Regions from separate parts of the Homo sapiens genome. Here region 1 is linked to region 2. The links are contacts of gene promoters, found by promoter capture Hi-C in blood cells and fetal thymus (Javierre and others, 2016). All regions are on one chromosome and are shown on one strand. The core of a region is centred on a gene start or on the middle of the fragment in contact, and the rest is flanking DNA. Distances in the headings are between cores, read along the strand shown.

Region 1 (7,356 bases), core at 236-2,735, 140 kb before region 2:
GAACTGTGGCCTTCAATAGAGGAATATACCCACTTCTGCCTTCAGAATAAATACCCTGACCTTCTTCTCCCTGTCCTCCAATTTGTTAGTGCCTCTCTATCATAAACCAAACAGTAAGAGTACCGTAATGATACAGTCCATAGTGGTGAGCATTTTGAAGCACAAAACAGGGTAGAGTAGGGCAGATACATACTTTGCAGGGGCAAATAGAACATATCCAGCATACCTGTATTGTGTCTGTTTCATGCTATTTAGGAAGACATTTTGATGAGTGGATTGAGACTGTGAAAAGAATAGTACTTGGGGCTGATCTGGTAGGATAAGGCAGCAGCAAAAATAAATTGCTCTTGTGAATAGTCAAGGTGAGTGCAGTTGAGAGTCCTGAGGAAGTGTGTATAGGATTTGAGTACTCAAAACTAAGAGATGGAAGAGGAAAGACCGGAGAGAGGGAGAGGTAATAACACAAAGCTATAGCCATAGGAATGAGGCTCTGCCGATGAAATGGATCCCTTTGAAAAGCTTACATTCCTTTTTTGTTTTCTTTGAATTTGGAGGACAGTTATCTTACTTAGCGTTCAGTTTTAGGGAATTTTCTCTCCTATTTTTACTATCTTTTACCTCCAAAATGTCCATAAAAGACTTCTACCCTTGATGACTACACATTAATGATGATCTGTGGAGTGACAGCAGGGTGGGCACTGTGCAGGAGGGTGTTATGGGAGCTCAGGGAAGTTGGTCATGGTGTGGAGGACCTGCAGTGACAGTGATACAATCCCTTTGTGCCCAGATAGACTGGAGACCTACAGATAGGGAGGGGAAGTTGTGAGTGAGGAGGCATTGGGGTTCAAGCTGTTTTGTTGAACAGTGAGGGCTGGAGGATGGTGGGACATCCAGACTATAGGCTCTTGAAGTTATATACTCTTTTCCTCTTCAGAAAAGCAACCAGATTAAATTGTATTAGAATGAAAGGTGAAAAGCATACATTTTCAAAGTAGGCCTGTCTGAGGAAACATAATTGATTTTGCGAATATTGCACCAGAAGAACCAGGGCCAAGGAGATAATAAGATGATGGTGGCTTTTTGCCTTTTTCCTCCAGATCTGAGAGTTTCTATTGTATTCTGGCATCTGTTACTTCAACGTTTGCTGTACTGTAAGTCTTCATTGACACTTGACCCAGGCAAATCCATTTTTCTCTACATAGTCTCTCTCGAACTTTTAAGCTTAGCACTGTCTTTCACTATTGCAGCATGTTTCTTTTTGGGATGGTCATTATTTCTTCTCTTTTAAAAATAATATCCATTTATATCTGTTGGTTATTCAAGTGGTATGGCTGTGTCCACCATTTGAGTTATCTTCATGAGCCTCTTTTTTCTACTTCGTATCACACATACTTGAAAACAGAAGACTATTGTTGACTTGTTTAGTTTCATCTTATTTTTATTAAAATTTAAATGCCATCACATGATCTCAGTGCTATGATACATGTCTGGATCTTGGTTACTTGAATTGGTCGATATTTCTTAAGGGAAATAGAGTAGACCCACATATAATTCCCACCTACTTTCTTTTTCATTTTATCCCAGAGGGATCCACATTCCTTCCTTACCCTAATTCACTGCAGGGAGACAAAGAGAAATAATAACCCTCTTCCCCTACTGCTCCAGTAAAAATTACAACAAATCATAGTGACTTTAAAAAAAAAAAAAAAGAAACAGCAAACCTTCGTGATTTAAAAATAAGCAAGCTTATGTTTTGCTTCTTCCCCTGTGAGGAAGCTACAGCAAAGGCTCTAGGGAAAGAGTTTGGTAGAAATCACAAATTTGTGTATTTTTGTTTTAGTTTACAGACATGTTATTAAGCCAAAAATCAAGATACAGGATCTAACAAAGGCTTTTTATTACCTGTCAATATATGTATTAGTTGGAAATAATTAATTTGAATGTAGAACCAGGAACTATTGTATTCGTTTAATAATTTTACCTTTCACTGAGTATGGATAGTAGTGATTCTTTTATCCCTCTTAAACTTGCCTCTTTTAAGATTTAAGGGATGATCTTATTCTTAGTTTAGGCTCTTATCTTACATTAGACGAAAAGGAGTTCTAACTTTGTAAAATACCTTCAATGTATTGGTTTTAGATTCTAATTATAGATAGTATCTTCTATTATAATAGAGAAAAGGTATAGTAATAATTTCAATATTTTAAAGTAATATTAAAGTAATTTAATATTTTAAAGAAAATAATTTTTTTGTATTTTAATAAGGGGTCAGTATTTTAAGACACCAAGAATATTACAATCACATATGTCAGAAAGAGAAATGTGTGATCCAGGGTCTTTTCTACACCTGAACACACATTTATCTTATTTTTTGGCCTGCAACCTCGTCCTTATTACAATGGCCCAATATCTTGCTTTTCTTTGTTTTTTCATCCTCTAGTCATATTGTTACACATTTGAGGCTATTTAAGAAAGAAAAAGGACTCTGCTTCAGAGTTTTCTCCCTATGTCTTCATGATCAAATAGAAAGGAATGTGTGAGAGGGACAATCAGGTGATTTTTAAAACCAAGTGAATTTATATTTTAGTTATTTCAATCACAGTGAATTGTTACTTCTTTTAATATTGGAAAAATAAAAAGAAACAAATCTCTGAAAATTGAATGAGTAAATGAAAACAGGAAAAGAAGAAACTAAATAACAATAGTTATTCTTATAAATCTGAGAAGCATCATAATAATAGTATTAGGGGAAAATAATTTTTTTTATAAACCTATAAGAACACTGATAGTGATAATGATTCTCAGACATGCCTAAAGTTAAGGAAAATATATGCTTATAAAGGTTATGATAATAGATGTGAAAATGGGAAATAATAGGAATAGAGAACTGAAAAGAGTTAATGGGCTATTAAATTCGGGAACTTAAGGAGAGAGGGATTGGAAATAAGTGCAAAATTTTGCAACTCAAATAGCACAGTTTCTTATGTGACAGGTAACCTATGTTACATACTTGATGAGGAAAACAAGAGGACACAGTACTATTCTTGATAACTTTTTTAAATTGTCACAGTATGTAATATGAAGACATTTAGGCAACTAGAGGGTGTAGAAAGTAAAACAGAGGACTGGTTATTGTTGCTGTTGTTGCTGTTTTGCCTCTGTTACATATGTAGAGATTGCTAAATTGTTACTAGTTTATCACCACACAGATTTTGCCAACCTGAAAGTGTACTCTCAGCGATATAGACTTGTTTATACTTCATATACTCTATGCTTGCTATCCCTCCCTCCCTCCCTCCCTTCCTTCCTTCATCTCTCTCCCTCTCTCTCTCTCCCACCCACTCTCGGTCTTTCCCTTTCCCTCTCCCCCACCCCACCTCTCCTCTCCCCTCCCCTCCCCTCCCCTCCCCTCCCCTCCCCTCCCCTCCCCTCTCCTCTCCTCTCCTCTCCCCTCCTCTCTTCTCTTCTTTCATTTGATATTTTTTATGTCCCATGTTTTGATTTGGTGATTGATGATGAACTGTGGCTTTCAGATCTTCCTTTTGTTCTAAAGCACATACTGTCCTAAATCATTTTCTATTTTGGTGTTAATTAGTACATCATTGGGCAGAGTATTGTCTAGGTAGCTGAATCCATGATGCTTTGGAGCTAAATACACTATTTTCCATTATAGCCTGATATGTGGACTAGGTCACCTTTAGATTTATTGACTCTGAGCTAACTCTGGAGTCATCTATAAACCTTTATTTATCATCTTGGCATATAATCAGGAACATAAGGGTATAGCTGTTTGAGGATTTGAATGATCATATGGCCTGTAGGAAAAAAAGGGGGCAGTGGGGGAAATTCTAGAAGTTGACAGATATCAATCAAGCCAGTTTAGTGACAAGGCTAAATACTAGTTTACTAAGATTCTAAGACTATTTCATGATGATTTTACCGTTCATTGTTAATTTCCATGTCATGAATTTCAGTTCTTTAGATCCAAAATTGTATACATGGCTCAATTTTATTTTTTCTATTTAATGCAGCATTGATATGGGTAAAGTAAAAGGCTACAAGTTGGGGTAAAATAAATGAAAATCTAATTTTTTTTTTAGTTTTTTTTTGGCTTTTTTCTTTTTTTTTTAAAGGATAACTATTTTCAGACATTTTTGGGTACCAGACAACTTGTAGAAGGTATTTTTCTTCTTTTGAAATGTGTTAACTTCACAATATGTAATGAATAGCTTTATATGTAAATGGTTAAAACTCCCCTGGTGACGAATTTATAGATTGAGTAGAAAGACAATCAGATTAAAAGATGGTAGCACAAGACGTATCTGAATCAAAGTATCATCAAAAGCTTAAAAGCAAAAGGATCAGCAAGGGTACATAGGAAAATGCAAAGGGGAAACAGCAGTAATCACAGCATTAATCTCAGAGAAGACCTCAGGATTCAAGGATTAGGCAAAACTCATCTTCTGGCAAGATAGTGAGTTCTCAGTTGGGATGAGCAGACAGTTCCCCAACTGTGGTTCCCTAAATTTTGATTGCTCTGTCTCCATGAACATTTCCACATCATCTCTATCCCCTCTGGTCCCATCACTGTAATTGAGTTGCCTACTGGGTATGGCTCATGGAAAATTTGGGGCAAGTCATTGGTCTATGCAGCCTACTGGCCTTCCCCCCAACCCCCTGCCCAAGGGCAGGCTTCCTCTCTTTTCTCGTGTGCTCCCTCCCACCACCCCACCCTCCTACTTATTTCTCTTCAAACAGTTATACCTGAGCCTATGTTGGCAGTTTCCCTCTCCTCTTCTATCTAATATAGAGGTGTGTCTCTACCCTGGCTGACAGACATATTCATGCTCCCCTCTCAGGCCAGAAGCCTGCCCGACCTCTACAGGGTGACTCCTGGGACTCAGACAGGGCAGTGACCAAGGGCTGTTTCTCTCTGCAGGAAGGCTCTATAACCCATTCGTTTGGTATACTTTCAGACATCTCGTTCTCCCTGAGACCAACTATGAAGTGTGTTTCAAACTTTGCAGATGCAGTTGTATATTTACCTTCATACAGCAGTCCCACCTTATCTATGGTTTCACTTTCCTCACTTTCACTTACCAACAGTACAGTATAATGAGGTATTTTGAGAGAGAGAGAGACCACATTCACATAATCTTTATTATAGTATATTACTATAATTATTCTATTTTATTGTTACTTAGTGTTTTTAATTTCTTACTGGGCCTAATTTCTAAATTAAACTTTATCATAGCTATGTATGTATAAGAGAAAACATAGTACATAGGGGGTTCAGTACTACCTGTGGTTTCACACATTTATGGGGGTCTTGGAATGTGTACCCCACAGATACCAGGGGACTACTGTGTATGAATTCATGTTTTAATACAGCTATTTCTGTGTCTCTCTCTTTCACACGCACACACCATCTTAAAATTTTTATATATGACTTCTCATAGTGTTTTCGTTAAAGATAAATGTTTTTACATGGCCTCACATAATTTATCATCCAAACTGGGACACTGTGAGAGAAGGGATTACACCAAGTCAACAGGAGTAAGCCAAATTGAATAGTCAGCCTCCCTGCAAGGCCCTCCATGGTGTGGCTGCTGACCTTGGCAGCCTCATCTTGCAATGTGCTCTTCCTCGCTCTGTGCGCCTCAGACTCACAGGCCCTCTTTGCTTACTGCTTACTTTTGCTCAAAAGCCTTTGACATGCTTTCTCCTCTACCTGGACAGAGCTTTGCCTCTGCTCTCTTATTCACCTAATAAACTCCCCTTGTTCATTTTTCGGATTTCTCTCAATTCTGACTTCCTCAAGAATGCCTTCCAGGCTGGGCATGGTGGCTCATGCCTGTAGTCCCAGCTACCTGGGAGGCTGAGGCAGGAGGATGGCTTGAGACTAGGAGTTCAAGGCTGCAGTGAGCCGTGACTGTACCACTGCACTCCAATCTGGGTGACAGAGTAAGACCCTGTCTCTTAAAAAGAAAGCCTTCTAGGGCTTCCCTAACTTGATCCATTCTCTCTCATTATTCCTCAGAGCACCATCTTTTATCACGTTTAGATAATTCTTGGATTAATTTCTGTCCTCCACTAAAGTGAGGTTTAATGTGGGTAGAGACCATATCAGGGTTTTCTCATCATTTATTTTTTCATCACTCATTAGGCACATAGTAAAAACTAAATAAATATTTGTTAGATTAATTAATTTTTTTTTTGAGACAGGATCTCGCTCTGTTGCCCAGGCTGGAGTGCAGTGGTGCGCTCTCAGTTCACTGCAACCTCTGCCTCCTGGGCTCAAGCCATCTTCCCACCTCAGCCTCCTGAGGAGCTAAGACTACAGGTGTGTGCTACCATGCCTGGCTAATTTTTGTATTTTTAGTAGAGACAGGGTTTCACCATGTTGCCCAGGCTGGTCGCGAACTCCTGACCTCAAGCAGTCCACCCACTTCCATCTCCCAGAGTGCTGGGATAACAGGTATGAGCCACCTCACCCAGCAGGTTAATTAATTTAAAAGAGGAAGATGAAGATCAAGTTTATTGCATATCCCAAAATATTTAGGTAGAATTAATTCTGATACATCCCCTTTAATTTTTGTTTAAAATACATGGTACATTTTTAAATTATAACTGAAAGTGTTCAAAATTTAAAATTTTTATTTTACATGTTATACACAAATAGAAAATTTCTAAACATTAAATTTGTTGAAAAAAATTTTTTGGTCAAGGCTGTTTTTTTCTTAGATCGCATGCCTGTCTATTATTTAGGTTTAATACATGGAATCAGATGTGGTTTCACAGATATGTATATTAGTACATTGTTCTTTTTTCCTAAGGGAAATATAAAATTAAGAGTAACTTATTGTTGCTTTAATTTTAGATTATGTACATTTTAAAGTCAGATATACAACTGAGTTATGAATAATATGTGTGAGATATTTCAAAAAGTAAAATGCATTTTTAAAGAAATTGTTACCTTTCTGAGTAGCAATTTAATCATAAATTAAATCAGGGTTCATATACATGTATTGATTTAACCATTTAAATGTATTTGATTTGAAATTGGTCTGTCCTGATGCAAGGATTCAGAGGGGAGAATAGAAAGAGCAGTGGATACTTTTCCTGGAGACATTGAAAGTTGCCTGGCATAAATTTAACACAGAGAGAAGGAAGATTATGTCATTATTCCTGATTCCCTTGGTCATTCGTCTTGTGGAGAACAATTGCTACATTCCAGTAACAAGTTTTCTGAGGCTTACTAATAGCTCCATGACATATTAAGTACTGATCTCATTTAATTATAATTTCAGTGAGATTAAATTATTCTATGTAGTTAAAGTAGAATCGAGCATCCTA
Region 2 (7,585 bases), core at 3,219-5,718:
AGCAAACTGGAAGGTTTGCTGTGTTTTGTATACAGTTTTTTATCTCAAATAAGCTGAGAGGAAGATTAAACACACACACGTAGCTCACAACTCACCAAAGAACTAAAATGACTTAACAACCAATGAGTTTAGAATCACAATAGAATCATATAGACAATGGGTTCATTTGTTTGAATTGTTCATTTTTAACTTGGGCCACTAGATTTACCCTTTCTGGTAGGCGAAGTAAAAAGAAGGAAAAGGATTCCTTGCCAGTCACACAAGCAAATATTAAAGATAACCCCAAATCTAAGCATTAGCATTTTTGTAAGGCTACTTCACGTCTTAGTCTACCTACCTGAATATTCTGGCAATATTGGTACAGACGTCCTTGTCACCCTTGTACTGTTCCATTGCCGTGCAGAGCTGGGGAAGGGCACTGATGTTTAGGAACTTACTTCTTACTAATGATGAATCAACCAAGTTTCTCAATGTAGCAGTCACCTAGGATAAAAGCATGCTTGTGCCATTTTTTTTGAACTGAAAAAATATAACCACACGAAACAGCATAGTACAATTCATTTCATAAATTTCCTTATATCAGTAGCTAAGCAAAGCTCCCGCTATGCATCTCCCACCAGGGAATGTGAGCCTAGGCACAAGTAGCAACAAATGAAAACAAAGAAAGCCTAATTTGGTTGAAAGGTAAAGAATGAAATATTAATCTTAGTAAGCAATTGGTATACCCCAAACCCAGGGTTAAACAAACCATCATCTAGGTTTGCTAACACTCCTAAGATCTTCAGCTGGCCCTGTGATAGCCACATCAGTTCTGCAGATTAGAAACTTCTTGTTCTATGTTTTTCTTTCTTTTTTTTTTTTAATTTTATAGGTATTCTTGTCTGATTGTTCTATGCTTTTATAAATAGCATCAGATAATGAATGATGTGGCCAAGGAATATTTAAGATCTTTAGTCTCATTCTCTCCCAAGAGACAAGTATTAAGATCTCACAAATTTGTCTTATTTTATTAAAAAAAAAATTCAGGAAAGCTATCTACTTTACCTTCGTCAAAGAGTCAAGAAGAGAAGAGTTTAGTAAATCATAAAACTAATGTTGTTATCTAATAATTTTAATATGCAGTGTGCTCCTTCCTTGTGGGACACTACAGGAAAGCTACTGGTTAAGAGCCAGTTCAGCCTCACCACCCATCAGCCTGGGTTAGTTATTTAACCTCCCAGAGCTCATTTTTCTCATTCAATAAAGTAGAGGTGATGATACTTCCCTAGCAGTTGTGAGGATTCTATGAGATAAGATGTGTGAATGGCATCGCTGCCATCATCTCTTCCTAGTGAAGTGCCCAGGGGCAGCCACTCCTTCCTCCACTTCCCCATTTCCTCATCTGTGAAAAGCAGATGACAAGCACTGCTCACCTCTCGGGGGGTTGTGTGTAGCAAATGGAAACATGTAGCACTGTTTTTATTACTTATCTAATACTGTAAAGCATCATGTAAACATAAAGCATCCTTACAGCCATAGTATATAAACTTTTAAAAACAATTTTTAAGATGACATGATTAGTTTTTCCTTATAACAACAGCAACAAAAAGATACATTAAAATATAACTGACTACCCTGAAAACACAGAAAATGTAAAAAAAAAAAAAAAAGCTTCAAATAAATGTGTACATGTCTTTTGTAATCAATTCAATTATACAATGATTCTGTAAATTCTTCCCTGAAAGTTTCAGTATCCCAAACATTGGAAGTGAAACAAACTACTTGAGTATTCCACTTAACTCCATAGATCTAAACAATGTCACAATGTAGTCTTCTTCTAAGCTAAGGAATGGACTTTTTTTTTTTGGAGACAGAGTCTCTCTTTGTCATCCAGGCTGGAGTTCAGTGACAGGATCTCAGCTCACTGCAACCTCTGCCTCCCCCATTCAAGCAATTGTCGTGCCTCAGCCTCCCAAGTAGCTGGAATTACAGGTGCGTGCCACCATGTCTGGCTAATTTTTGTATTTTTAGTAAAGACAAGGTTTCGCCATGTTGGCCAGGCTGGTCTCAAACTCCTGGCCTCAAGTGATCCAAGCACCTCAGCCTCCCAAAGCGCTGGGATTACAGGGGTGAGCCACTGCGCCCAGCCAGGAATAGATCTTTTGTGAAGACTAATGAACCATTCTAGGAATTCCATTGCTGTCATAAAATGGAAAATTCTCATCATCTGACCCCGTTTCCACCTGTTCTCCTGAGACAGCCCAGGCACCGGAGCACTACTGGTTTACATTAATTCAGAGGATGCCTCAAAACTCTCTTCCATGGAGACGGAAGAGTACAGATGCCTGTGTAACTCCCATGCAGACAGACATCATGGGAAACCATGAAATACCCATTCCAGTCACTGCACACCAACAGTTCCTTTTCCCTGGTCCCCAAGGCATCAAAGATGGGACATCCCAATCCATAGTCATCTTCACGCTCCCCACATCTAAGCTCTGGCAAGGGACATTGCCAGCAGAAAGGACCATAGTTTCCTTAGGAGCTTTTATTTTCTTGTTTCAATCTCAATTTTTTCTCCTTCTCAGGCCTTATTCTCACCTCATTAGCAAAAGTTTAGACAGCTCAAGTTTCTTCTGCCCCACATACATAACTTTCATAAATAACCCAAGTCAGGAGAGAAAGCCCACATTTATATGTGACATGTCATTTGATTGAAATTCCTACCCATTTACTGCACGTGATACACACAGTTGAGTAATATACAATACCTCACGTATTTCCAAATTTGTCATTTGTGGTGCTGGTAGAAATAACATGCATGAAACATATACCATACATTTGAAAAATACACAGCAATAGCTCAATAGATGACACCATCAACCTAGTTGCTCAAGCAGAGATATCCCAGAATCCTGCCTTTCTGCTTTCTGTTACTCCAAGCCATATTGGCTTTTTGTCCATAGCTCCCAGGATAATATTCAGTTCCCTGACCATGGTCTACAAGGCTCAACAGATCTGTTCCTTCTCAACCCGTCAAGCTTCATCTCATACCATATATGCCCCCATAAACTCTACTTAATGCTAGGTTATTTAATATTATGGTTTACTATCTGTCTACTCCTCCAGACTAGACGCTTCAGTGAAGGCATAAACCTTGTTCATCCTTTTCACCATTGTACATCCAGCTCCAAGTCCAGTGCCTGGTACATGGTGGGCGCTCAATAGGCATTTATTAATGGAATGAATGAAGGGGTGGACATCTACAAAGGAAAGACTGGGATATCAGAACACCATGGGCTAAGCAGACAATATCTCTGAGGTAGACAGATTTTAAGATTTTTTTTGAAAGCAGAGGAGTAAAAAATAATGGATGAAAGAAAAATGGACTCTGTAGTTACCCAGCTCAGGCTAACTTGTCTATGTTTAAGACCTTTCAGAGGCCGATCAGTCGCTTCCTCTTCCGTGTTAACAAAGCATCCTGTTCCTGCCTCTATAACCCCCATCCATCACAGAATAAAAAATAACGGATGAAAGAAAAATGAACTCTCTGGAAGGGGACCAGCCTCTGTGTATTTGTTCTCTAGCCTATCTCATTTCTGACAGCAGCTCCTTCCCAAGCTCCTAAACTCCCGGGCCCCACCCCTTTCCCCACCTGACTGGTCACACGTTCACCCCTTCTCTCCATCACCAGCGTCACTGGTTCAGTTTAAGCTCACTTCATCTCTTACCCAAACTCTACAGCCCCCTGGATGGGCTCCTTCCACAGTTTGCCCCCATAGCTGCTCACTGCTGCCAGAGGGGGCATCTCAAAGCTCCGCCTTCCCTGCTCAAAGGCCTCCTGCGACTTCCGGCCCAGCCAGTAGCACCCATAGCCTAAAGGTTCCTCAGTCTCTGAAGTGTGGTTTATCCCTCCAAACTCATCTCCTTTGCCTCGGCACCACCCTGGCCATCTTTCAGACTCTGCACCACATGAGGTCCTCAACCCTTCATGACGCCATGCCTTTGAATAGGCGGCTTCCTCCGCCCAGAGTGCCCTCGATTACACTTTGCCACCCCTTCTCCCCCGGGCCATCTCCTGCTCATTTTTTTCTTTTTTCTTTTTCGAGACAGAGTCTCGATCTCGGCTCACTGCAACCTCCGCCTCCTGGGTTCAAGCGATTCTCCTGCCTCAGCCTCCCGAGTAGCTGGGATTACAGGCAAGCACCACCACACCCTGCTAATTTTTGTATTTTTAGTAGAGACAGGGTTTTGCCATGTTGGCCAGGCTGGTCTTGAACTCCTGACCTCAAGTGATCCGCCCGCCTCGGCCTCCCAAAGTGCTGGGATCACAGACATGATCCACCGCGCCCGGCCTCCTGCTCATTTTTCAAAACCCAGCTCAAGATAACTTCTCTGTGAAGTCCTTTCCGAGGCTGATCAGTCACTTCCTCTCCTTCCTCTTCCGTGTTACCAAAGCATCCTGTTCCTGCCTCTACAACCCCCATCACAGAAGCATTGTCACTTGTCTTCAGGCATCTTCTCTCCCATGGTGAGCTCCTCTAGGGTACAAACCACTTCTTATTCCTCTTTCTATTCAGAGGACAACAAATGTGCTCATAAAAAGCTCTTAAATGTTCAGCTACTGGAGGGCTGGAAGAGTGAATGAGAAGGGGAAGGAGGAGGGGAATGAGGAGGGGGAAGAAAGAAAGAAGGGACAGGAGCGACAAAAGAGAGGTTTTTCCCTTTAAGACACCTCTGGCAAGAAAGTGCGGGAGCTTAGCAGAGGCCTGGGTGAACCAGGGCCTAAAACCCTGAGGGAGAAGGATCAGGAAAAGGCCACCACGCAGATGCAGCTCTGAAGGCCCTGTATCTTGAGAGACTTGTCACCAACCTCTGAGAGCCACCAATCTCACTGTGGGATGATGGTGGGGCCCTGAATGCTCAGACCAGTGGCCTTTTCTGGAAAAAATGCAGGAAAAAAAAAAAAAAAAGGGTGTGGGGAGGAGAGTCTAGCTAAATCATGTGGTCACAGTAAAGGCAAGTTCCAAGTCAACCCATTTAACTGAATTTTGCTCCTACTTTTGAATTCATTATATACAAGTGAAAATTAAAAAAAAGAAAACAAGAACTCTCAGTTGAACAGAGATAAATCTGTGAAAATTATCAATGAGTTCTGTGCTCTACAGCAGGGTCTTTATTTCCCACCCTCAAGAAAAGCCCACCCACTGGGCCCTCCCCCAAAGCAGGAGTTAACCAAAGCCCAAGCTTCATGCTTGGAGGTGTGCATCCATTTCTTTCTTAACTTTCTATTCTAATTTATATTATCTATAAATGCACAAACTTAAACACACATTTTTCTTTTTTATTGTATATAATCTTTCAAACCACCTCAAATCCCTTACTTAAAAAAAGTCTTGTTTAGTCTCTAAAGGACTTAGTAGAGAAATTCTCAACCTCTTAAGTAGCATTTCACCAAGAAATAGCACACTGAAAAACACAAGTTTTAATTCCTATCTTTTCCCCCATCTCTTAACTTGCAATCCTGTGGGACTTGCAATCCTGAAGGCAGCCCATAGGAAGAAGAAAAAAGAGAAGAAAATGACACTGATAATCCACAAAGAGGACTAATACAAATGTAAGTTTCCTTGCTTATTAGCAATTGTTAGGTGATGTTTAGGACAAAAGGGGACCTAAGGTTTTGGTAAATACCCAGGAAGAAACATTCCATTTTGCTTCTGGTTACCAATCTACTACTGAAAAATGACTGAGCTACACTTGACAACTTTCTGGTGCTCACTTTTCTGAGAAAGCTTCTTTCCATGTTCCCCAAATTATTTGATCATAACAGGTACCACCCTCAGTCAGGGAAAACACCTGGAGACTTGGCAAAGCTACCCAGCTCACATTGAATTATGTAAGCCTCAAAGTTTTCATTGTGTAGTCAGTATTGGGAGACCCATTTTAAAGGGAAAAAATGTACTAAGAAGAAATTAGATCATTTATAAATGCACAACTACATTTTAATACAGTAAAATGAGAACTCAAAAGCTTTAGCTTCTGTTTTTTTCAAGTTGACTATAGGTACTTAATTATCAATTTCAAATTGTGTTTTCAACTATTAATTAATTGAGAAACCTTAGCAAACACAGGAAATATTTGTCTTAAAATATGGGGCTGGGCCCAGTGGCTCAGGTCTGTAATCCCAGCGACTCTCATGGCTGAGGCAGGAGAATCGCCTGAACCCCAGAGGCTGAGGCTGCAGTGAGCCATGCCTTTGATCGCACCACCGCACTCCAACCTGAGTGACACAGTGAGACTCTGTCTCAAGAAAAAAAAAAGGGTGGGGGGGCCCTCCGGACTTGGATCACTGGACTTGAGGACACAACACAGGCCCAGCAGCTGTGGTCTCATTCCTGCGTTCTCTACTGCAGTGGGTGGGTGCGAGGTGGGGCAACCTCCACACACACTGATCATGTCCAGAGTGGACGGCCCTCTCTTTTCCCTCTGTGCCCTTCCTCCATCAGAGTACTCTGTCCTCAAGGAACTCACCAGATTCTGCTCTAGAAGGCAACCTGCCATCAGAGCTGCCCCAGATCAGAGGAGCTTGTGACTCATTGAAGCTCAGAAGTCTATCAGCTCCCAGGTAGGCTAGTGCCCTGGCCTCAGTTTCTTGGTCTATTGCCTCCCTACTCTATTTGGCACTGGTCTCTAAAAGCATTTTGCAATCATCTGGAATATCCACAACTGAAATCCCTCGAGCTTTGTCTCAACTTAACTGCCAACTGCAAAATTGTTGACTTCCCACTGATGATGTAAAAGAATAAACGCAGCCGCCAGAGACCACAAACAGTGTGAAATGATTTATGACTAAAGCCACTATTTTCCAACCTCAGCTAAGCCATCTCCCTCTATTAATAAAGGCAGATTCATTTCTTTGAACTTGTGCCCAATTGAGGCCACATATATGCCAAAACCAGAGCCTGTGTGGTAACCCAAGAAGTTTCATATTGTCTCATATATGATTTGTACAGTTCTGGCTGAGACAAAAGAAACCAATGACAAGATGCTGCTAGACATGTGAAATCACTGGTAACATGCATGTCTAAGCTTTTCTTGGAATTTATTAAGATATATGCATATGAAGGTAATATTAATTAATAATCCTTGATAACACTCGGTGCCTGGCTACACAGGCCTACTTGGCACATCCCTACCATGGGTGTCCGACTTAGCAGGAAATGCTTCTGTCCTCCTTAAACCTCCAATGTCCTACTTTGAGACTCTATTTAACATTTGGCTCTGTTTATTGTTGTTTCTCCATTTACTGCCTCTATGCCAGTTACTTCACTAAAATGAGTAGGTAGCTGATTCTTCTAGTTGTGGCTATGTATGTATTCAATACAGGAGAAATTTTGAATATCATACAAACAATCTAGAATGGCAATGCAGCAAAACAAGAAAAAGGAGTCTGAAAAAGATAGTGCATTAAGAACTACCAAGCAATGAAACCACTATTCACAATTATATGCTAAAGCTAGTGACATTTCCTTACTGCCACAACTAATAGATCTACAGTGAAGAGAGGAGGCTGAGCAGACAGAGCACTAATTGAGAGCAAATGGCT

What was found. Contacts are between HindIII fragments. The CHiCAGO score rates a contact against its expected background, and 5 or more counts as called.
Region 1: a contact is called between a fragment that was not itself captured here and the fragment with the promoter of ARMC2-AS1 in region 2, in 1 of 17 cell types (megakaryocytes). The highest score is 6.9, in megakaryocytes.

Annotation. Positions count from the first base shown.
Region 1 is chr6:109,060,666-109,068,021 of GRCh38, reverse strand. The region is part of intron 1 of SESN1 (sestrin 1); the gene reads left to right. Among named protein-coding and RNA genes, the nearest start is that of SESN1, 31 kb to the left of the region's middle. The HindIII fragment of the contact is 524 bases long and covers 1,224-1,747 here.
Region 2 is chr6:108,920,986-108,928,570 of GRCh38, reverse strand. It overlaps ARMC2-AS1 (ARMC2 antisense RNA 1), which reads left to right and starts at 4,468. Exons shown (of 3, transcript NR_104137.1): 1 at 4,468-4,510; 2 at 5,527-5,596. ARMC2 (armadillo repeat containing 2) reads right to left here. Exons shown (of 18, transcript NM_032131.6): 11 at 338-483. RefSeq lists an enhancer at 7,126-7,585. The HindIII fragment of the contact is 2,206 bases long and covers 3,023-5,228 here.